7 separate regions of the Homo sapiens genome follow, and regions 2, 3, 4, 5, 6 and 7 are each linked to region 1. Evidence: promoter capture Hi-C in 16 types of primary human blood cells and fetal thymus (Javierre and others, 2016). All regions are on one chromosome and are shown on one strand. The core of a region is centred on a gene start or on the middle of the fragment in contact, and the rest is flanking DNA. Distances in the headings are between cores, read along the strand shown.

Evidence for each region. Contacts are between HindIII fragments. The CHiCAGO score rates a contact against its expected background, and 5 or more counts as called.
Region 2: a contact is called between the fragment with the promoter of DNM3 here and the fragment with the promoter of DARS2 in region 1, in 4 of 17 cell types (non-activated CD4 T cells, activated CD4 T cells, fetal thymus and 1 more). The highest score is 8.6, in non-activated CD4 T cells.
Region 3: a contact is called between a fragment that was not itself captured here and the fragment with the promoter of DARS2 in region 1, in 8 of 17 cell types (fetal thymus, naive CD8 T cells, naive CD4 T cells and 5 more). The highest score is 10.1, in fetal thymus.
Region 4: a fragment that was not itself captured here is called in contact with the fragment with the promoter of DARS2 in region 1 in 3 of 17 cell types (total CD4 T cells, naive CD8 T cells and total CD8 T cells); the score reaches 6.5 in total CD4 T cells.
Region 5: a contact is called between a fragment that was not itself captured here and the fragment with the promoter of DARS2 in region 1, in 1 of 17 cell types (naive B cells). The highest score is 5.4, in naive B cells.
Region 6: a fragment that was not itself captured here is called in contact with the fragment with the promoter of DARS2 in region 1 in 1 of 17 cell types (naive CD4 T cells); the score reaches 5.2 in naive CD4 T cells.
Region 7: a contact is called between a fragment that was not itself captured here and the fragment with the promoter of DARS2 in region 1, in 1 of 17 cell types (naive CD8 T cells). The highest score is 5.1, in naive CD8 T cells.

Annotation. Positions count from the first base shown.
Region 1 is chr1:173,822,950-173,826,274 of GRCh38, forward strand. It overlaps DARS2 (aspartyl-tRNA synthetase 2, mitochondrial), which reads left to right and starts at 1,724. Exons shown (of 17, transcript NM_018122.5): 1 at 1,724-2,407. The coding sequence starts at 2,281. It overlaps CENPL (centromere protein L), which reads right to left and starts at 1,934. Exons shown (of 6, transcript NM_001387287.1): 1 at 1,263-1,934; 2 at 977-1,070. RefSeq lists enhancers at 1,211-1,450, 1,428-1,946, 1,681-2,240, 1,947-2,464, 3,106-3,325. The HindIII fragment of the contact is 2,471 bases long and covers 1,621-3,325 here.
Region 2 is chr1:171,839,796-171,843,120 of GRCh38, forward strand. It overlaps DNM3 (dynamin 3), which reads left to right and starts at 1,703. Exons shown (of 21, transcript NM_015569.5): 1 at 1,703-2,022. The coding sequence starts at 1,862. RefSeq lists a silencer at 1,518-1,747 and an enhancer at 1,948-2,127. The HindIII fragment of the contact is 4,190 bases long and covers 1-2,392 here.
Region 3 is chr1:172,527,724-172,531,048 of GRCh38, forward strand. No RefSeq gene overlaps it. Among named protein-coding and RNA genes, the nearest start is that of SUCO, 3.8 kb to the right of the region's middle. The HindIII fragment of the contact is 1,005 bases long and covers 1,313-2,317 here.
Region 4 is chr1:172,568,711-172,572,035 of GRCh38, forward strand. SUCO (SUN domain containing ossification factor) reads left to right here. Exons shown (of 24, transcript NM_014283.5): 7 at 309-432; 8 at 1,337-1,461; 9 at 1,953-2,020. Among named protein-coding and RNA genes, the nearest start is that of SUCO, 37 kb to the left of the region's middle. RefSeq lists an enhancer at 2,077-3,076. The HindIII fragment of the contact is 1,000 bases long and covers 1,077-2,076 here.
Region 5 is chr1:172,586,303-172,589,627 of GRCh38, forward strand. SUCO (SUN domain containing ossification factor) reads left to right here. Exons shown (of 24, transcript NM_014283.5): 18 at 2,458-3,325. Among named protein-coding and RNA genes, the nearest start is that of SUCO, 55 kb to the left of the region's middle. The HindIII fragment of the contact is 470 bases long and covers 1,629-2,098 here.
Region 6 is chr1:172,603,833-172,607,157 of GRCh38, forward strand. The region is part of intron 22 of SUCO (SUN domain containing ossification factor); the gene reads left to right. Among named protein-coding and RNA genes, the nearest start is that of FASLG, 54 kb to the right of the region's middle. The HindIII fragment of the contact is 629 bases long and covers 1,433-2,061 here.
Region 7 is chr1:172,629,217-172,632,541 of GRCh38, forward strand. No RefSeq gene overlaps it. Among named protein-coding and RNA genes, the nearest start is that of FASLG, 28 kb to the right of the region's middle. The HindIII fragment of the contact is 195 bases long and covers 1,627-1,821 here.

The DNA of each region.
Region 1 (3,325 bases), core at 474-2,973:
GCTGGTCTTGAACTCCTGACCTCAGGTGATCCGCCTGCCTTGGCCTCCCAAAGTGCTGGATTACAGGCATAAGCCACCACACCTGGCCTCTGACATATTTCTTAAAAAGATATACACTTGTCCTCTTAGATGTGGGCTTCACTTTCATTCTCAATTATAGCTACTTATCTTGTTCCCAATCTTAGCCCCTTTCCCTAATCCATCATCAGTCTTTCATTGTCACCACTTTTATCATTACCTTGCTTGAGATCCCATAACAGTTCCCACACATCTATATGAAGTCAAATCAGAATTCCTGTCTGGCTTTCAAGGCACTACTGTATTTGATCTTATTATCTGATCCTATCCAGGTTCATTTTCTACTACTTCAGTTCTTCCCCAAGATCCATCGACATTAGCCTTTCCAAAATCCAACATTCTGCATACACTTCCTCTAAGGTTTTGTATACAACATTGGGGGGTGGGGGGATGGGAGTGAAGAAAGTTCCAGTAGACAATTCTTTAAGAGGTTAAATGACAGCCCTATACCCAAACATGCACCCCCTACTCTAGACAGATGATCACTCTACTGTTCTCCCTGCCTTTTTATTCACCTTATCGCCAATTAAAAACACTTCTCTACTCCCGTTTGTCTCAGTAAATCTTATCCATTTTCCATGTGCCATCTCCTCAGAAGTTTTCCTGAGCTTGGCAGGGCTAGTTCTCTTGACAATTCCACTTGCAGTTGTGGTTCACAGCACACAAGTAAAGCTTTGTTGTTTCTCTTGTGATTAGTCCGTGAAGGGGCTCTGACTTGATCACTTTTCTACATTGCCACCAATACCTAAATCCAACCGCCCCAATGCCAATACTTAGCCAGTGTTAAGCACGTAGTGTTTAAACACACCTCAACACGCAAGTATTGTAAGATAATGACCACACAACAGGGCAAATACAAAGTTAAAGCAGGTCCGGGACCAATACAAAGCATCTTTACCAATAAAATGCCGTGATGACGCTGTCACCCATTCCGGATTCACGAATCATTCTTCAAAAGTCCGGCTCCAAAACTATGTGGAGACTGAAATCCCCTGAAGAAAAAAAAAAAAAACCGCCAAAATGACAGCTAAGACAGAGGCCAGACTAACCCCTGGCCCTCCCAAATTCCCTCTCGCTCCACAAGTGGGTTCACAAGAGACACAAACGCACCCAGGAAGACCTCCGCTCCCTCAGACGCGGGGCGGGCCCTGCGACTTCACTCTGGGAGGGACATTTCCGCTCACCCAGCTCTGCGACCCTCGCTCCTGCGGAGTCAGCTTCTGCTCGCGGAGGGGGAAGGGCAAAAGGACAGTGCGTCCCAACCCGTCCCTCTCCAGCTGAGCCTGTCAGAGACCAGCCCAGCTCTGAAATCAAGCCGTTGAGAAAAGGGAATTCGGCCCTCCGCCGCCTCTTCAGTTTAAAATCGTTTCCCGACTCGCTCTGCGGCCCCACGCAGGAAGCCTCCTTGGCGCCTCGCCGATTCCGTATCAGTGAAGCAACTAAAATTGCCATTTTAACTGAGGGCAAGGCCGAGCCACTTAACCACTATCGTCAACCTTTCCAATCGTGCTCGGTTGCTCCTCAGTTTTCCTACCGGTGCGAAGCTTTCTCTCAAATTTCCGCCCGTAGTAGGCATGGCGGCGGCACCTCACCACTGATTCGTTGAATTCCTTCCCGGTAATCTTGGGCACTAGCGGGCGGAGTTGAAGGGCGCTTGGACCCCAGCGGCGATCTGTGTTTGGGTTCGCGCTCTGGGAGAATTTTGGCTTTGCTCGCCTTCCTCTTTCAGAAGACTCGAAATCGGCCAGCAGGTCTGCGAGATTTGAAACGCGACTGTTACTCCTTGTTTTCCGGTTCTGGCCGCGGGAGCCTCTCGAGAAGCGTGGAAAGAGGAGAAGGGCGTATACCTTGTGACCGCCTCTGGTTGTCTTGGGCTCGCGCCTGGCGCCGCTACGTGGAGTCGCTCTCTCGTCGTCACTTTTGGCTGCCGACTTGTTGAGTAGAAGTGCAGACTGATGCTTTAAGACTCAGGGAGAGGTCTTTCCCTTATCTCCACCCCAGCAAGCACCCCAGAGACCTTGGAGATTTGTCTTGTTTCTAGACACGTGTACTCCAATGTTGTGCGGAGGAGGCCTTAAATATTCGAGAAGAGAGTGGGAACTCCTGGAATTTTAAGGGATTTCTGTGTATTTCCAAAACTGACTTTTAACTACCGGCAGCGTGGGATTTCGTGATTGTTTTTCGCCATCGTGTGGCTCCAACATGTACTTCCCTTCTTGGTTAAGTCAGCTGTACAGGGGTTTATCCAGACCCATCAGAAGGACCACCCAACCGATCTGGGGTTCTCTCTACAGAAGTCTGTTGCAGAGTTCACAGAGGAGAATTCCAGGTGAAAATAGCGAAGAGATCTATCCTATGAACAGTACTTCAGCCTGTTATCTACGGCCGGAGAGCTTTTATTCCATTTTTCATTTTTTCCCCCATTATTATTATTATTATTATTATTATTATTATTATTTGAGACGGAGTCTCGCTCTGCTGCCCAGGCTAGAGTGAAGTGGCGCGATCTCCGCTCACTGCAAGCTCCGCCTCCCGGGTTCACGCCATTCTCCTGCCTCAGCCTCCCGAGTAGCTGGGACTACAGGCGCCCGCGACCACGCCCGGCTAATTTTTCTGTATTTTTGGTAGAGCCGGGGTTTCACTGTGTTAGCCAGGATGGTCTCGATCTCCTGACCTCGTGATCCACCCGCCTCCGCCTCCCATAGTGCTGGGATTACAGGCGTGAGCCACCGCGCCCGGCTTTTCCCCTGTTCTTAACTGGATAGCCTTATGTGTAGAAGCGAAATTCACTCTCATTATATTCATTATACGGCAGTTTTTTTTCCCTGAGTTTTTAGAAAGACCACAAAAAGGTAACCACGTAATATATAGAATACTCTGCTTTTGGTTGATGCCTTAAAAAAATCCTTCTTCGGCCGGGCGCGGTGGCTCACGTCGTTAATCCCAGCACTTTGGGAGGTCGAGGAGGGCGGATCACGAGGTCAGGAGATCGAGACCATCCTGGCTAACACGGTGAAACCCCGTCTCTACTAAAAATAAAAAAAAAATTAGCCGGGCGTGGTGGCGGGCGCCTGTAGTCCCCGCTGCTGGGGAGGCCGAGGCAGGAGAATGGCGTGAACCTCGGAGGCGGAGCTTGCAGTGAGCCGAGATCGCGCCACTGCACTCCAGCCTGGGCGACAGAGCGAGACTCCATCTCAAAAAAAAAAAAAAATCATTTTTCACAGAATTATAATAGTGTTTTCTAGTG
Region 2 (3,325 bases), core at 453-2,952, 2.0 Mb before region 1:
CAGCTATGGCCAGGGCTCAGTTTTTCTTCATGCCTTTCTATCTTCATGACTGCTCTGGCTACAACCATGCATTGGATGGAGTGTTTCTTAGAAAAGGTTTCCTGGGCAGACATTCTAATAGAGATCCACTTCAGTGGAGATGCATTCAGTTTTATTTGTCTTTTTCTGCTGCTTTAAAAAAAAGTTGAGATGTAATGTACAGTAAAATGCACATCACTTAAAAGTTTAGTTTGAGGAGTTTTGACAAATGTATGCCCACATCCCAGTCAAGACATGGGACATTTCCATCACTCCAGAAAGTTTCCTCATGCCTCCTACAGTCAATCTCCACTCCTCAAAGACAACCACAGTTCCGATTTCTATTACCATAGAATAGCTTTGCTGGTTGTAGAACTTCACATACATGAAATCAAACCAATATGGTCTTTGGCCTTTTTCATTCTACATAATGTATCTGAGATTGTTGCTATATCAAAAGTCTTTTTTGTGGCAGAGATTATTTCACTATATATATATACCACGTTTGTTTATTCATTCACCTGTTGATAGACATTTGGGTTGTTTTCAGGTTTTTTGACATTATGAACATTTTAATATGTCTTTTTAGAGTTAGAAGGAACTGTACATTAAATGCTGAGATTACAAAAGATGACTTCAGTTTTGAATAAATTGAGTCTGTAGTACTTGTAGGACACTCAGGTAGTATTCTGGGCTCCTCTTGGAGTACAGTCTAAGTTGCAGAAGAGAGACAGGGTCTAGCAATGTAAATTTCTGTAGTCGCCAGCCTTGATTCAGAGTTAAAGCTATGGGAAAGTCCTCAGGCAGAGGACAAACATTAGACAAGAAAATGCCCATATATGAAACCCTGCGAAGCATCAGTATTTGAGGAGCAGACTAAAAAGGAACCGTCTGTGGAGGCTAAGAGAAGCATGGCCATTTATCTTTGTGTCCCGATCATCAGGCACAGGACCCCACACACAGTCACTTCTCAATGTGCTAAATTTCACAGAATGCGTCCAGGGTACCTGGTTCTGGATAGATCCGGTAGAAGGAGATAGACCGGGAGGGCAAATGGCATGAGGAGTCTCACAGGCCAGAGTGATTAAAGGGGTGTATCGGGGCGGTAAACCCTACAGACTCTACCTGTGCTTATGCGGGGCTGGGGAGGACGAGTCATTACAGATGAAGAATTAAGTAAGGTCAGACCACTCAGGGCCTTAGATGGATGTCACATTGAAGAATTTAGACTCCAACAGGCCTGCCACCCTGGGAGGAGTCATCGCGGATTCTGGAGAAGGGCGTGACAGAGGAGATTTCCTTTCGGGAAGTGTAGTCTGGCAGCGGTGCCCCGGTGGTGGCGGCGGCGGTGCTGCTGTTGCTGGTGATCGTGTGGTGGTGTTAGCGGCGATAGTGCTTTCCACTGGGCTTTGGCTTGGTAGCCGCTGAAAGAGAACAACGCTGCCGCTGCTGCTGATTTCATGCCATTTCCTGACCCGGCGCTGTAACTTGGCCTCTGAGCCTTGGCCACAGAACGCAGAGGCCGTGGCATCTGGCCGCAGCTGGGCTGCAGTGCGTGCGCGCCTGGCCTGGTGGTCCGATGGGAAGCCCGGGGCGGGGCAGCCGCGGGGCGGGGGCGGGGCGTCGCGGAGATAGGCCACGCCCCTGCCCGCCCGCGCAGGCGCGCTGCGGGTCGTTAGCTGTCAGAGCCAAGCGGCGGGCTGGCGGCGGGCTCCGACGTCTGCGCCAGGACCTGGCTGGCTGAGCCCGGCGCAGCAGCAGCAGCCAGGGCAGCGCGGCCCCTACTCCCTGTCAGGTCGTAGAGGCGAGCAGGGACCAGCTGGTCGCCGGCCCCTCGGGCAAGATGGGGAACCGGGAGATGGAGGAGCTGATCCCGCTGGTGAACCGTCTGCAGGACGCGTTTTCGGCGCTGGGACAGAGCTGCCTGCTGGAGCTGCCGCAGATCGCCGTGGTGGGCGGCCAGAGCGCCGGCAAGAGCTCGGTGCTCGAGAACTTCGTGGGCAGGTAAGCGCGCAGGGCGCGGAGTAAGGATGCGGCAGTGGGGCGACCCCGCTGCGGGCCGTTGGAACGTGGACGGGCAGCGGGAGCCAGAGGGTGGATGGACCAGGCGCTGCGGTGGAATGGGGGGCAGAGTGGAATGGGGGGCAGAGTGGCGGTGTCCGTGGGGCGGGCGGGGTCCTCCAGCTCTGGGCATCCTCCGTCCCCTGCCACCCCCCGCCTGGTGGCCCTCCTGCCTGCCTTTCATCGTGCGATACAAAGCCATTTCCTCCCTGTCCTCCAGTCGGGGAGTCGGGGGAGGGGTCCGCCCCGGGCTCGACCCCCACCCCCTCGGTGCGCGCCAGCCCCGGGCAGCCTCCCTGCGTAGCGCGCCGAAAGCTTCCCAGTGCCCCTCTCCTGTTTTCCCAGCTCAACACCCCCCTCCTTTTCCTGTCGCCCTCCGTGAGGCTCCCTGTGAGGCTGTGGGGCTTTATCCCCCGAGCCCCCTCCCTTAGGTGGAGATGCTTTCCTTCTCGCCAGGGTTCTCGTTCCTCTCAGCTGTCTACTGTTGCCTGCCTCTAGCTGGGGAGGCGGGGTGCGAGGAGAAAGACGTCGTTTGTTGTGGTGAAGCTTTATCCAGAGACGCTTCCCCACCATTCTCCTCCCGGAGAGTCGAAGAATAAAAGGTGGTGTGTTTGCGTGTGCACCTATTCACAGCTTCAGGCAATTGTGAGAGAGCCCGAGGCACAGACTTGGCAGGGGGTGGACGTGGACTTATGTTGTCCAGGTGCCATGTCATTCCTGCATCATCTCGGAACTGACCAGCATCTTTCTCGCACTCTCTCTGCGCCCCCTCCCCCAGCATCATCTTCCGTTCTCTAAGCTCCTATTTGTCTTGCTAGCCTTCAAGACAACATTCTGAATCTAAATTGTAGCTGTGGTTTTCCTCATGACTCTTAATACAGAAACAGCTAAGGAATTAATTTTCGAATTAGGAATCAGCATTTCTTCCACTGAGCAATTCATGAGGGATTAAGTTACCTTAATGGCCTTGCCTGAAGAGTGCAGACATTTGCTAAGAAAAGCCCATTTAAAAGCATTATGAAAACTGAAATCTGTTTCCTAGTAATAGAAAACCAGGTAGAAATGTACAGTATCCAAGAAAAAATGCTGGCGAGATTGTACTTTATTCTTTTTATTTGGCTCATTCGTGACTTGGGATGCAGAAGGTTCCTGTTTCTGTTCCTTTTTTCTTTTTTTGTTAGTGCTTGGTGATGTGTAGAATTTAGAGCTGAATATTCCCACATTTCCTTTGGAAATGTTAGTGTTC
Region 3 (3,325 bases), core at 565-3,064, 1.3 Mb before region 1:
CTTCCTCTTGCTGAGACACACTCTGATATTTTCTAAATTATTGTCTTTTAGTTTTTAAAAAGTGCTGCTGGATTCCCTCAAGATTCATTTCTTGACTCTCTAATGAATTGTGACCCCACAGTTTAAAAAACATTGCTCTTTTGCAGGACTTCTTAGTTGGGATCCATGTATATAATTCACAGGTCCATGGAGGGAATAATAATTATATCTCCATTCTCCTAACCTCTACTGAAATTTAGAATTTGATTTTATTGTGAATGTAGGTAACAAACTGTGGTAGTACTGGCTGTATCTACAACTTTGTCACCAATATTAATCACAGATGTTTTCATATCACATTATGCATATTGTAGGTATCTTGGAATGTCTCTTATACTCATCACCATTTTGGAATTATTGACATTAGGAGACCTGCTGTTAGACCTTGTTATTTATGCATTAATGAAAAAGCACACCTTATTAGATCACAAATTTGCTTTGTAATATTTTAATAACTGTATTTCCCTACAATTAGTTTCCTTGGTAATCTATGTGTTTTATTTTATACCTTTATAAACATTCTGAAAAGGGTTTTACCAGACTACCAAAAGGGTTCAGTTCAGAAGATTAAGACTCCCTGCTAGAACGCTAAACTTTTCCTGGAGCAAATTTCTGTCTCAGCATCTTTAATACAAAAAAGGCTCAATAAATATTTACTGAACACTTTATTTCTCCAGGTTACTTAGGGTAACTAGAACCTAGGAAAATCTATTCAGACATAAGTCAAATAATGTTATGCTAAAAAGCTAATTTGGTAATTTATAGAGAAAGAAATAGTTGGCTAGGTGCTCTAGACTAGTCAACTGCATAAAACGTTCTCATCCTAAGGGCTTGCTACTTCTAGGAATTTAAATTATAAGGCAAATTGTAATTTAAGGTGATTAGACAAAGAAATAAGTAAAAAGTAAAAAATTATTTCTTGGGCCTCTGTAATAAAAAAAGTCACTGTGTGATATATATCAATAAAACACATGACCTCTCTGCAATAAGGAATTTATTCACTGCTTGGGGAGACAAATGACTATTAAATAAAAACAGTGTCATGAGGGCAGGCACAGGTGTTTCAGGTCATAATAAACAGTGTGGTCTGGTGAGAAGGTTGAGTTATGAAAGAAAACAGTGGGAAATAAAGCTTGAACTACATCAACTGGGTTTGATTATGGAAAGCTTTGAATGCCAGGCCAAGGAGGCAGGACTTTATTTCACAAATACGTCAGACCTGTAGGAGATTTTTGCATCAAAGAAAGGACATGATGAAGATAATGTTTTAGGAAGCTTCATCTGAGAGCGTTATACAGGAGGTACTAAAGGACGCATCAGTTACAATCCCCAACATGCTGCTTCAGTTGCTACTTTCTCTCCCTATTTTGAATCTTGTACTTGTAAATTCTTGCTAGATACTTCCACCAGAACCTCAATACTGTGCTTCCAAAACCATACTAGTCTCTTAAATTGTAAATCTGCAACTCCTGACTTTCCTACTCATATAATGGCACATACGTTCTTAGAAATTGGACCATCTTTGATGTCTCCTTCTCTGTCACCCACATGTAATCATTCCCTTCCTCTAGTTGATTCCATTATGAGCCTATTCAATTCATGTATCTTCAAAATAAACATATGTTAACGCAGTGATAGAAGACTGAATTTGGGATCACAAAGTAGAATTTTTAAAAAGGGAAATCTTACCTTTTGTTATTTGCAGTAAAAACAGAACCGTGCATGCCAACATTGCACTCTGTGATCTTCCCGCCCTCAGATCTTCCCGCCCTCAAGAGACTGAGTTCTCAGACTGTACTAATAAAGCAATCTATGTCTTCTTCTGATTTCTACCTTTACCTCCTGAAGTGGCCAAATTACCAGTGCTCTGTTAAGGTAGATTAGGCTAAGTAGTTAAGGCTCTTTTCAGGTAGGTAGTAACTAAATAAAGAAGGTATATGCTATTCTACACACATATTTATATATATAAAGAAGATGATCGGGGGGACAGTTTTAAAAGTTCTGTTTATACTTTTTATGCGGTTAAAATGTTAAGTGCTGATTGCCACATTCACCATTTTTCCATCTTATTTAGTCTCTTTTATTGTCCATTTGTCTGTTTTCCATTCCCCAACCTTTCTTTGACTGATTTCCAGGAAACTTCTGTTTTAACTGACTTTTACTCTGGAAGCATCTAAATGTCATTGGTCTCTAAGATCCTTTGGAGACATATAGGATCTCAGCATTTTGTAATATTGAAAGGAGCAGGTAATTTTTCAACTAAATCAAAATACATAAAAGCTTGCTCATGAAATACCACCATCTTAGACAACACAGTTCTCTTGGGTGTCTTAAATATGATTTGTATATGAGATAAAGAACAAACGAGATAGCCAGAAGGGGTTGGTTCCTTTTCTAAGGTCTGCTTGTTCTCTTTTACCATAAGCAAACAGAGTATCTGATCTTTATCAAGGCAGGGACTTGAGCTGCCCAGAGTTTCTGGTTTAGTCACCCTTTTAGGAATGGGAGAACTCATGTTCATTGTGCAGTTTAGGCCCTAGTGACTTGCTGAATAATCCAAGGATCTGCAGGGCAAACGAGTTATCCTGTGTGTGGTCAGTGCTTTATAGATTTTATTGAATTGGGAGATTCTGTTACAGCAGGGTTTCTCAACCTTGGCACTTTTGACTTTTTGGCCAAATAATTTTTGTTGTGGAGGGCTTTCTTGTGCACCGTAGGATGTGAAACAGCATCCCTGGCCTCTACTCACTAGATGCCAGTAGTACTTCTCCAATGTGACAAGCAAAAAATGTGTTCACACAATGCCAATCTCACCCTGGGGGGAAGTCTGCCCCAGGTTGAGAATTACTGTATTATAGTTAAGGGGTGGTTGATAGTGGTTACTTAGCCTAAGCCTTAAAAGATTATATATATAATTAAATATTATATATGAAAGATTATACATTATACATGCTCTTTTTCTATATTCTTTCTTGCCATTTTTGGCATATGTTATACTTTTAAGTATGGTGACATTCATCTATACTAGTTTTATTTTATATAACTATTACTCACTTTCTTATACTTGTCTATTGAGTTGTAAGAAAATTTTCTCTGTTCTTTTTCTCATTATATTTAACAGATATGTGGAAAAATGTCTACCAGTTCTTTAAAGGTCAGCTCTATGGAACTTCTATTTATTTCATCTGAAGTCTTAGAATAGGAAAGAATCAACACAAATATAGAAAGTCACGTGAAGAAGCTAATTTATGGGGAAAATGAGTTCAATTTTGTGCAGGTAAAATTG
Region 4 (3,325 bases), core at 327-2,826, 1.3 Mb before region 1:
TTTGTACAGGCTATATATGAGTAATTGTTTGCTTTAGAGTTTTATAAATTATTTTTTTCAACGACCTATGCTTATATCACTTAACAAGTGAAGGAACACATCCTAAAAAGAATGTTTAAATTATCTCAAGAGAAATTCAACTTTTAAGTAAACCAAAACCTTTCTTTTTACGTTTTTTATTTTTTCAAAATATAATCATTCATTATAAATTGGAACTTTAATTTGACAGAAACATTTGTATTTATTTCTAAAATTTATTTGTATTATTTGAAAGTTGAAGTCTTCTTACTTTTTGGTGTTTCTTTCAGAGCTCTGATTATACAAAACCAGGAGACATTGACCCTACATCAGTAGCAAGTCCCAAAGATCCAGAAGATATACCAACATTTGATGAATGGAAGAAGAAAGTTATGGAAGTAGAAAAAGAAAAAAGTAAGGAAGTATTTGAGTTCTTTAAATTTTTTTTTTAAGTATATGGTGTAGTTTAATATGCTTTCTTTTTTTGATTGGTAAAACAAAATAAAATTTACTTTTGAAAACTTTTTAAAGGTGAAACTTAACCAAGTTGCTGTTGATCCATCCATCCATCATGTACCTGTATATAATTACATACAGTTTTAGTTTTAATTAAAATCCATTCTTGTAAATTATTAAGTGAGCATAAAATAAGGCATAGCAGTGATTTTCATCACAATACGAGGAAAATTGAGGCATGGAAACTATTTTAAAATTCATATGGAACTCAAAAAGAACTTGCATAAAATCCTTGGGTTTAAAATATTCTTTAACTTACCAAAAGGTGTTTTACATATGATGTTTCAAGAACATACCTAAAGAAAAGCTTGCTTATGTTATGAGGCAGAGGAGGGTGACTAAAATTATAATTTATTCCCTGTGTGATGGGTTATTAGGTGCAGCACACCACCATGGCACATGTTTACCTATGTAACAAACCTGCACATCTTGCGTGTGTACCCCAGAGCTTAAAAAAAAAACAATAAAATAATGTAAGAAATACATCCTTAATAGATGTTTATAATAGATATAAATACAGAAAGCTTTGATTCTCATGGACAAGCTTCATTTTGTGAGTTATGTTACTTAGACATAAGTAATGTAGAATTTTGTAGTTAATTTGTTTTGGGGGGATATTTTAAGCTATTGAGGTGGAGCACTTTGATTTTTTTATGAATTTTTAAAATATTCTCTCAAGTGTTAAAACCTATTCTTTTCTAGAAGACAGCTTATTGCTTTGGAGATCAGTGTTGCTAGAGGTATTTTCAGTCATAATCATCAAATATATATATAAATATTTATAATAACGGTTTGTCTGCAGGTCAGTCGATGCATGCATCTTCTAATGGAGGTTCACATGCCACCAAAAAGGTCCAGAAAAATCGAAATAATTATGCCTCAGTAGAATGTGGTGCCAAAATTCTAGCAGCTAATCCAGAAGCCAAGGTAGGTGTTTAAATATAAAATTTTGTATATATAGGAAATTAACGACTTTTTAAAATACAGGTTATTTGTTTACTGGGAACTATATTTTAATGTGAGATATTTTCCTTATTCACTAATAAAAGCAGAATATACTTTTCAAAACATTATCTTGTATGAATTCTTACTTATATTGGCTGATGTATTTTGCCCTGCATTTTTTAACTTTTAAAACCCGTATGAAATTTTAAAAAGGAAATAACTAAAATATTATTTTTTTCTTTAAAGTAACAGGCATTGAATTTTAAATGTATCATTGTAACACTAATTTAATGCTGTTGCCGTGAATGGTGAATCTTAGCCACTTTTATGCTTTTTTCCCAAGTGAGTGTTTTAAAGTCTTAGGTGTACTTAAGATCTAAAAATACAGAAGTCCCAGAAAACTTTAAAGTTAAAATAAATACTTTCTTCATTATTCCTTAAGTAATTTGTTTCCTTTCCTCTTTTTAAAATAGAGCACATCTGCTATTCTTATAGAAAATATGGATCTTTACATGTTGAATCCTTGCAGCACTAAAATTTGGTGAGTTATACACAATTTTAAAAAGTACATTCTACATATATATGCATATTATGTTAAGCTTTTACATTAGGGTTACATTGACATATAATAATTTAATAAGCTTTTATGATTGATTAGTGCTGATACTATGCAAAACTGAGGACAAAATGCCTTCCTTTCCTTTTGAGGAGGTCACAAAAAGCAAAAAATGGCAGATCTGGTTAAACAATTATGAAATGGTATAAAAAGTACTGTTGAAAGGGTGTTATTGAAAGAGTGATGATGCGTAACTGCAAGAGGAGATGAGAGAAGGCTTCCTGGAAGAGGTAATTCCTGAGCTGAATCTTGAAGGATTAATAGGAAGTGGCAGATGAATGAGGCAGAGGTATTCAGGAACTGTAAGAATAAGGGGGGTACTGCTGCCATCTCGGCACACTGCAGCCTCCCTGCCTGATTCTCCTGCCTCAGCCTGCGGAGTGCCTGCGATTGCAGGCGCGCGCCACCACGCCTGACTGGTTTTCGTATTTTTTTGGTGGAGACGGGGTTTCGCTGTGTTGGCCGGGCTGGTCTCCAGCTCCTAACTGCGAGTGATCCGCCAGCCTCGGCCTCCCGAGGTGCCGGGATTGCAGACGGAGTCTGGTTCACTCAGTGCTCAATGGTGCCCAGGCTGGAGTGCAGTGGCCTGATCTCGGCTCGCTACAACCTCCACCTCCCAGCCGCCTGCCTTGGCCTCCCAAAGTGCCAAGATTGCAGCCTGTGCCCGGCCGCCACCCCGTCTGGGAAGTGAGGAGAGTCTCTGCCTGGCCGCCCATCGTCTGGGACGTGAGGAGCCCCTCTGCCTGGCTGCCCAGTCTGGAAAGTGAGGAGCGTCTCTGCCCGGCCGCCATCCCATCTAGGAAGTGAGGAGCGCCTCTTCCCTGCCGCCATCCCATCTATGAAGTGAGGAGCTTCTCTGCCCGGCCGCCCATCGTCTGAGATGTGGGGAGCGCCTCTGCCCCGCCGCCCCGTCTGGGATGTGAGGAGCGCCTCTACCCGGGCGCGACCCCGTCTGGGAGTTGAGGAACGTCTCTGCCCAGCCGCCCTGTTCGAGAAGTGAGGAGAACCCCCGCCCGGGCACCGCCCCGGCCGAAAAATTAGGAGCCCGTCCGGCCCGCAGCCCCCCCGTTTGGGGAAGTTAGGAGCGTCTCTGCCCGGGAGCCACCCCAATCCTGGAAGGAAGGTGGGGGGGTGAGCCCCATGCCCGGCCAGCCGCCCGTAATGGGAGGGAGGTGGGGGGGTCAGCCCCCCGCCCGGCCAGCCGCCCCGTCCGGGAGGGAGGTGGGGGGG
Region 5 (3,325 bases), core at 614-3,113, 1.2 Mb before region 1:
TTAAAAGCATTGATCTGTGGTATCCCTAGAAAGCTACCAAAATACCTAGAGCAGTGGTTCTTGAATAATGTATTTGCCACACAGCAAGCTCTTAACTGTTCCATTTCTCTGAATCATGTAGGCCTTTCCCCAGGTTGCAGTGGGGACACTTTGGGCAGGGATGTATCTAAATAGGTAATAGATATATCTTTTACCTTTTTTGTCTTTTCTGCCAGAGGTGGTTACTTTAGTTGGTACCTCTACTTCTTACCTATAATAAATAATAAGCTTATAATGATTTGGATAATCAGGTAGTTATTGTAGACTTAATTTATGTATATTTCATTAGATACACTCCCTACAAAACTTTGCAAGTCCTTTATCTTAGAACAACTCTACTTAAAGAGTATAAGATATTTGAAATGAACCACTTAGTTCAAGATAGTATGTAATGAGACCTGCAGTGGGTATGCTTTGAACTGCAATTCCTGAGAACTATACTATTTCAAAAATGATATTTTGATGCTTTGAAAGGCATAGTGAGAAAATTATATTATCCTGTGTTAATCCTGAAAGTTACTGGAGATATTTATTGGGTAATTAGAAAATATAGCGTATGTGTTATTGATTCTGAAAAGGACCTAAGAAATCTATTGGGGATAGAGACATTCTTGGTGTTTCTAATTATGTGGAGCTGTGATTGCTGTTCCTGATTTTGTAACTAGGTTTCTTCAGTTAACAACACGCTATGTCGTATTTTTCAAAACTAAATAAAACTGATTTGGTTTTTTATATATATATGTACACACTTTCATACACATATGTGCACAAGTAGGAATATTTGTTGAAAGCTGTAGTCACAGGCTAACGTAGCAGTTTTTATTTTTCCATATTAGTTTTTTAATAGATATTTTTGCATAATTTCTTATTCAGTATTTCTTCATGTTTGTCTTAAATTCTTTTTAATGCTTTTGAAGTAATCTTTTGAAGCAAATATGTGAAAATGAAGGAATCCATGATAGGATGTCACTGTTAAAGTTACGGAAAGCCAACTTATTTTCTTTTCCTAGGTTTTAGTAGGTTTTGCCATGTGAATTTGAGAAAAAACTTTTAAAGTATATTTCTGATTACAGTGTGTATGATGGGATATAACATCTGTATTCAGTATTTTTTACCAAATTCAATATAATTTTTCTCTCTCCCCTTCTTCAGACATTACTTGTTTTTACTGTCATAAATTATTTGGTAGAAAAGCAATATATTACCTGAATATGTAAGAAATATTATTAGAGACTAAATATATATGGCTATAAATATCTTTTTATTTACCGAAGTGTAGTCTAATTATGTTTTAATTTGGTCCATTTACTGTTTTACTACCAAAATGAAAGTCTACATCATAGATACTATTTTATTACTTTCTTCTGTCTTTGCTATTGTGACATTAGTCTTTATTTGAAGACATTTCCTGGCATGCTTAGTAATTTTTCAGAATGGGAAAATGTGTGTTTGAGCATAATTATTTTTGGTATTGAAATTACCATATTTTTTCATATTGGACTTTTTATGTATAAGGCTACACCCAGTAATTAACTATCTTTATCTTGGAAGGAATCACAAGCATTATAATTTATAACACTGTCCCCATAAGCTTCATCCCCCCACTCTCCTGTATGCCACATACATACTCCACAGCCTCAAAATGGGATAGAATATTAATAGTGGCACTAGTAGTTTAATAGCAGCACTGTTAGCATATCATAAGCCAGAATTGTTATTAAAGTGGTTAGGTATTTGGCTTAGAAGATTAGCCTAGATGATAGCAAAATTATTTTAGGAAGGGAGATATGTTTCTTGTCCTTAAAGTAGATAATCCTATGTGTGTAGGTGTGTGTGTGCGTTGTGTGTTTAATGCTGTATTGGAGTTCCTCAAATCATTCTTAGAAAAATTATGTTTGAGACCAACCTAGCTGCCTTTTGAAAATAGGGTATTCAAGTACAAAGTGCACTCATAAATATTAAGAATCCTAGATTCTAGTTTTAGCTCTGGACCTTATTTAAGCTAGTTTATTAAGCTAGCTCTTAGTTGGCTTAATTTCTGATGTGTAAGGGATAGTGAAGCTTGTAAAGATTCAGTGAATATTTATGAGAGGAAAGGAACACTACATTCAGTGAATGGAAGTATTCACTTAGAAACAATTCTTAAACAGATTAAAAGAAAGCAAGTTTGATATGGTAAATATGGTGGTTTGAGTCATCTGGCTAGTCACTTGATAAATAGTATTTCTCTTATCATTTCTGAGCAGTATTTGTTTTTATAATAAAAGTGTTTTGTAGGTGAAACATTTATCCAAAAACAAATTTCTTCTATATTTCCAACCTTTTATCTTCTGTATGGATACATTTATTTTTCTTTAACATATTTCAACTTTAGACTTCTAAGTAAGTGATTTATAATTATGATATATGTATTTCTAGGTATGTAACCACTGAAGTACACACACATGACATGGAGCCGTCAACACCAGATACTCCAAAAGAGAGTCCCATTGTACAGTTAGTTCAAGAGGAGGAAGAGGAGGCAAGTCCATCTACAGTGACCCTTCTGGGCAGCGGTGAACAGGAAGATGAATCATCACCCTGGTTTGAGTCAGAGACACAAATATTTTGCAGTGAACTGACCACAATTTGTTGTATTTCTAGTTTTTCAGAATACATATATAAATGGTGTTCAGTTAGAGTTGCTCTTTATCGGCAGCGCAGCCGAACTGCTTTGAGTAAAGGAAAAGATTATCTTGTGTTAGCTCAACCACCCTTACTACTTCCTGCGGAATCAGTAGATGTTTCAGTATTGCAACCTCTGAGTGGAGAATTGGAAAATACGAATATAGAAAGGGAAGCTGAAACTGTTGTTCTGGGTGATTTAAGTAGTAGTATGCACCAGGATGACTTGGTGAATCACACTGTAGATGCAGTTGAACTTGAACCAAGCCATTCTCAAACTCTTTCTCAGTCTCTTCTTTTAGATATTACCCCAGAAATCAATCCCTTGCCTAAAATAGAAGTATCTGAGTCTGTTGAATATGAGGCAGGACATATACCATCACCAGTGATTCCCCAAGAGAGTTCTGTTGAGATCGATAATGAAACAGAACAAAAGTCTGAGAGCTTTAGTTCTATAGAGAAACCATCTATTACCTATGAAACAAATAAAGTTAATGAGTTAATGGATAATATTATAAAAGAAGATGTGAACTCCATGCAAATTTTCACAAAGCTGTCTGAAACAATAGTGCCACCAATAAATACAGCCACTGTACCCGACAATGAAGATGGGGAAGCCAAA
Region 6 (3,325 bases), core at 497-2,996, 1.2 Mb before region 1:
CTATAGGCATTTGTTTATTTTCGTTCCTTATAGTATTCCATTATATAGGTATACTGTACATTATTCATTTACATTTAGATTATTTTCATTTTGAGGTTGTTACATACTTTTGGTAAACACCTGTGCATTTCTGTTGGGTATACACTGGAAATGGGATTGGTGAATCATAGGGTATGTGTGTGTTCAGCTTTAGTAAATACTGTCATACAATTTTCCACACTGTTTTATGAATTTGCCCTTCTATCAGCTGCGTATGAGAGTTACAGTTACTTCATATTCTAAACATTCCTTATTTGAGGTATACCCATGCAATTAGGAAATACGTTAGATTTTTGCTTCTCAGCATTTCTAGTCTTAAGTGAAATCGTGACTATCTTACTATTTCTCTTCTCTTTATCCAATTTTTTAGGGCCAAACAGAGTAGCTTTTTGCACCTGATAATAGAATTACTTCTATTTTAAACAACAGTGTCATCTTGGTGTATCTTTACCAGTAAAGAAAGTTGAGTAGAGTAGGTAGGAGACTGACTTTAGTCCTGATTCTACCAATAGTTAATTCATTTATTTCTTCTGTTGTTTGATAAGTTCTTGTTGTTATGGCATTTATCATAGTATGCTTTGATTTTACCTATTTTTACTTGCCTTATTTTCACTTCTAAGCTCTGTGGGAGAGACCATGTCTTTTTCTTATTGTGATAAAAAGCACATAAAATTTATCATTTTAACAGTTTTTAAGTGCACAGTTCATTAGTAGTAAGTATAGTTACATTGTTGTGAAACAGATCTTCCGAATGTTTTCGTCTTGCAAACCTGAACTCTGTGTCCATTAACCAATTCCCCTTTTCTCCCTCTCTCAGTCCCTGGCAACCACTATTCTATTTTCTGTTTCTATGAATTCAACTACTTCAGATACCCCATATAAGTGGATTCATACAGTATTTGTCTTTCTGTGATTGGCTTATTTCACTCAACATAATGTCCTCAAGGTTCATCTACATTATAGCATGTGACAGAATTTTTTCCTATTAAAGGGTGAAATAATATTCCATCCATTTTATTTATGTACCTCATTTCCTTTATCCATTCATCTGTAAGTGGACATTTGGATTGCTTCCCCTCTTGGCTGTTGTTTGAGTAGTGCTGTTCAGGGGTATACAGATATCTCTTTGCTCATTTTTTAGTTGGATTGTTTGAGTTTTTTGTTTTTAAGTTCAGGGAATTCTTTATAACCTCCGTTATGGATTATAACCCCCATTAGATAATATGATTTGCAAATATTTTCTTTCATCCTTTAGGTTGCTTTTTCACTGTTTTGATTGTGTCCTTGGATGTACAGTTTTTAAGTTCAACGAAGTCCCATTTGTCTATTGTGTTTTTGTTGCCTGTACTTTTGGGTCATATCCAAGAAATCATTATCAAGTTCAAGGTCATGAAGCTTTTCCCCTGTTTTCTTCCAAGACTTTTATAGATTTATGTCTTTAATCTATTTTGTGTTGATTTTTGTATATAGTATAAGATAAGGGTCCAGTTTCATTCTTTGGAATGTGAATATTCAGTTTTTCCAGCACCATTTGTTGAAGAGACTGTCCTTTTCCCATTGAGTGGTCTTTGCACCCTTCTTAAAAATGAGTTGACCACGTACATGAGGGCTTATCTCTGTGTTCTTTATTTTGTGCCATTGGTGTATTTGTCTGTGTTTATGCCAGTACTCTACCACTTTGATTACTATACCTTTGTAATGTGTTTTGAAATCTGGAAGTGTGAGTTATCTAACTTCATTCTTTTTAAAATTATTTTCCTTATTTGAGGTCACTTGAGATTTTATGTGAATTTTAGGGTGAACTTTCTATATAAGCAGTGTCGTTTTACTAGTTCACTTGCAGATTATTTTGGATTTTCAGTGAATACAGGTACGTATACTGAGAACAAAGACAGTTTTGTTTTTTCCTTTGCAGTCCTTATAGCTTTTATTTCCTTTGCTTTCTTAACTGTGTTAGCTTGCATTTTCAGCAATGTTAAATAAAAGTGATTGACAGGCATCTTTGTCTTGTTCCAAAGGGAAAGCTTACAGTGTTTTATTGCTAAGATTGTATTTGTCATAGATGTTTTGTGGATTTTTTATTCTGTATTTTGTCATTATGTGTTACCTATTGTCATAGGTATTCTATAAATTTTTTTATATTATATTTTATTTCCATTTTTAATGTTACAAACATGAATTATATTAGATTTTCTAATGTTAAACTTATATTGCATTTTTAATACCAGTTGCTCATGATATACGTGTGTGAATTTTGTATTGTATATATTATTTCTACATAATTTTGTTAGATAATTATTTAGAAATTTTGCATCTATATGAATAAGATTGGCATGTAATATTTTCTCATGTTGGATTTTGGTATGTAAGGTTTATAAAAATTAGATGGGCAGGGGTATCCCTTTTAATTTTTTTTTTTTTTCCCCTTCCATGCTTTCATTAAGATTTTTTATTGGGGAGGAAGTAAATATTCCCTTTTACTGCCATTATGTTGGAAGTTGTGTACTGGTTCTGTTCTTTTACTAGTTACCCTAGAAGTCAGAAGTATTAATGTTTGCCAAAGTCTCAAGTTCATCAATACTTGTATCTTCTCCTTAACAATACATAGATCTTAAAACTCTTATTTGTCCCAAGCCTTATTTATGTTACTGTTCTTGTATATTTTAATTCTATTCTTTCTGCTTAATTTTAACTCAACAAGGTATTTCTTTTTACACTTAATGTTCATTTAAATTTACCCCACGTTTACTAATGTTTTTATTCTTCAGAGCTTTCATTTGTCATTAGTTAAAACTGAAATATTCTCCTCTTCTTTTTCTTTATCATTTTGAGATTCGTGAGGCTCTTTGGAGCTCTGGATTTGTAGGTTTCTTTTACTTGTTATTGAGAAATTCTCAACCATTATTTTTTCCTCCCAGATATTCCCTGTGCCCCAGTCTCTTTTAGATTCTCATATTTAATTAAACATATTACTTCTCCGTATATCTTCCCTGTCTTGTAAACATTCCACCTTTTTGACTTTTTATGCTGTATTTTGGATGATATCTTCTGATGTGTTTCCAGGCCAGCAGTCTTACTGTTGCAAATTTATTCATTGGGTTTTCAATTTCAGTTATTTTTTCCATTTCCAGGAGTTCTTTTTGTATTTTTTAAAAATCCAGGTCTGTATTTTCCTTGTTATATGTTTCCTGCAGATATTTTCAAGCTTATTTTCTAGACATATTAAGCATAATTATCTTTATAGTTTGTGTTTGATAAATCTAATATCTTAAATTTTTGTGAGTCT
Region 7 (3,325 bases), core at 474-2,973, 1.2 Mb before region 1:
GAAAAATTGAAGCCCTCTAATGCCAAAAGATATGCATAATTCAGCTAAAAGTCATAATCAATGAATTATTGGAGATCTCTGTCTGAAATATTAATTTTATGTTGGTGCAAAAGTAATTGCAGTTTTTGCCATTACTTTCAATGGAAAAACCGCAATTACTTTTGCACCAACCTAATAGCTGCATTTGCAGTTTTGAAGCTTCACCATGACCAAATGCTGGCGCTTCAGGCAGAGCTGTTTTAGGTGTTATGTGACATGCATAAAACACAGTCCCTAGTCTCAGGAACTTATAATCTAGTGAGGAGAGTGGACCAAGAAATGCAAACAAATACCCACTACTATAATATCATGTTTAAATGCTCTAGCAGTGACATGATTAAAACTGTAGGAACAAGGAGGGTATAATTCCACCAGGGGAGGGCAGATTTCACAGAGGAACTGCCTCTTGAGGTATGTCTTGAAAAACAAGCAGGAGTTTACCAGGTGACAGAAACAGTGGTGAGGAGCATTGTCAGGGATGGGTAGGAGTTAGGAGTAGGCAACAGGAGGACATTTTGTCCAGAAAGAGTCTGTAGAAGCTCAGAGGCATAAAGTGCAGTGAGCTTCATAGCGACAATTGGTCACTGACCAAATGGGTTTCAGTTTCTTTCCTAAGGTGAAAGTCATCAGATTTTTATATCTCCTCTTGGCTTTCTCTCAGCATACGAAGATGTAATTTCTGAGCCACCATCTTGAGTTTTTCTGCTCATGGGGTTTGGTATGTATGAGGCTTCCAATTACTCTCTAGCCTTCCCTGTGTCCATGTTTGAGATGATGGCTTATGATTGAGATGATGGCTAGCTGGGGCGAGGGGAGCAGTCTTTGGCTGTGGTCGTGGATCCTTATGGGATCCTTATTGGTTGTATTCTGGGCTAATCGACTGAATTAACTTCTGTTCCTAAAATCTATGGGTACCCTAGGAATTTTAAATTTCTTTTGGGTAAGGAGTGGAGAGAAGTGAGTCACTTCCTCTCTTGCTTCATTGCTTTTCTCCATAGAGCACATAGAAAAAATCCAAAGTAAATATGAGAAGATCTTAGTTTTAAATCGTATTTAATAATTGACAGAGAGGAAACTAAAGATACAAGTGACCAGGGAGCTTAAGTTCAAAAGTCTGAATCAAGGACAAGATTAATCCTGATAGGTATTTATCTCAGGACAATTTCCTTCTTCCATGGTAACTGTCTCTTACAGAAAAAAGATTTCAGACGAAAGGCATAGCCCACCCAGGGGAATTATTTCCCTTGAGTAACATGAGACTGAGGACACATGTTGAATCCATTTCTCATTATTGAAAAGGTTTCCCAGATGATGGTGCCAGGTCTGTGTCTCAGCGTGGGAGGGGAGTATAGTATAGAATTTGAACCTAACTGCCCAGGGATCTGAGGAACCTCTCAGGGCGTAGTCGCATCCAAAGCTGGTATTGCTCACCGCGCAACAGCCAGTTAGTCAAGAGACAAGGTGTTGGGGCAAGGAAAGAGAGTTTATTTTTTTAGGAGACTCTATTTACTTATTATTTTGGAAAGCCAGCAAGCCGAGAAGATGGACTAATGTCCTAAAGAACCATCTTAAAAGGCATACATCTCAAGCTTCTTTTTATGTTGGGGAAGGGGGAACAAGGGGACGTTAAAGTCAGGAGGTGACTCGTGACCACAGACACACGAGCATCAGCTGGAGTCCAAGGAGGTTGCAAAAGTTATTTGTCTTTGGTCAGGTCACAGTGCTCCTGTAAATCTTGGCATAACATTGTTGCTTGTGCATACACCCTCCTTATCTCCTTTAAGCTTAGTTTTCAAAAGGGACTATTTTCATCCTTGCTTTGAACTATAAACTAAATTCCTGCCATAGTTAGCTTGGCCTACATGCAGGGATGAGCAAAGGCAGTCAGCTTGTGAGGTTAGAAACAAGATGGAGTCAGTTATGTTAGATTTCTCTTACTGTTACAAGGGCCTCTTTGAGAATCAGCAGTCTAGAATGGAAGTTCTTAATCTGGGCTTAGCAGAGAGTATCTGAGAAACATGAAATTCTTTGCAAACATTTCCATTTGTTCTTATTTTTGTAGAAGTTTTTTCCAGAAGTCTTATCTTTCTTGGAATCTTTCATCAATTTAATGAAAGGCTCTGTCACTCCCAAACAGGCTTAAAACCCCTAGTTTAATACAATGTGTTTCAAGATCTTGCTTCCTTTTTTGGTAAGGGAATGGAGGGTGAGAGAAAAAAATTGATTAAGCCTCCCTTTGGTGTTGCATCACATATCCCTAAAGAGAGACCTGCAGGACACAGCAAAAATCACACCAGACTTTTTTTTTTTTTTTTCAATCTGGCTGTTTTCAAAATTCTGGCAATAAGTCACAAAGTATTCAATGAGGAAGAAATGGGAAGCCAACATCCTCAGAGGCCCACATTTCTATACTAGCTCAGATACAAACAGAACTTGTCCAGGAGCGGGAAGTTTTATGCAGGAACACAGAAGAGTGGCACTGATACAGACAGGAGGCAATACTAGGGAAATACTAGGCAGAAAAGGGTGGGGTCCCTGGCAAAGCCCCACCCTCAAGCCTGGACCTGCTGCCCAAAGTGAGAACATCTATTCCTCGTTTCCCCCCTGAATGCTGCCTTTTCTAAAACCAACCTGGCCCACCTTGACCCCCATCCTGTACTCATAAAAAACCCAGGCTCCACCGGCAGAATGGCAGAGTGGCAGAGTGGCAGAGAAGGAGAGAAGAGAAGCAGCCAAACGTCGGAGAGAAGCAGCTTGACTTCAGAGGAACGGCTTGACAGTGGGACCTTGGAGAAAAGTTTGGCTGGGGACGGCCGAACTCCAGGAGAAGACTACCTTCCCACTCCATCCCCTTTCCAGTTCCCCATCCCACTGAGAGGCACTTTTATTGGCAATAAATTCCTCCACATTTACGATCTTCGATTCATTCATGTGACCTGATTCCTCCTGGATTCCGGACAAAGATCTGGGTGCAGATGCAAGAGTCGTCACACTGACCCTCCACTGAGCTATCTAACATTTAAGCCGTCCACAGACAGTAAAACTAAAAGAGTACGGTGTTTTAATGGAGGAAGATAAATAAGAGAGAAGGACACAGGAAAAGTGACATAATTCACTGATAACAGACAACAGGAAGAATAATCATGTCCCATATCAGCCTGGGAAGGTAAGAAAGGCATCATTACAAGGAGTAGAATAACAGCTCTCAAGCTGGTTCAGTGGGCAAAATATCTGGAAAATTTCATCAATGGAAAGGATGATAATAATCTAGGTCACTATTTCTGAT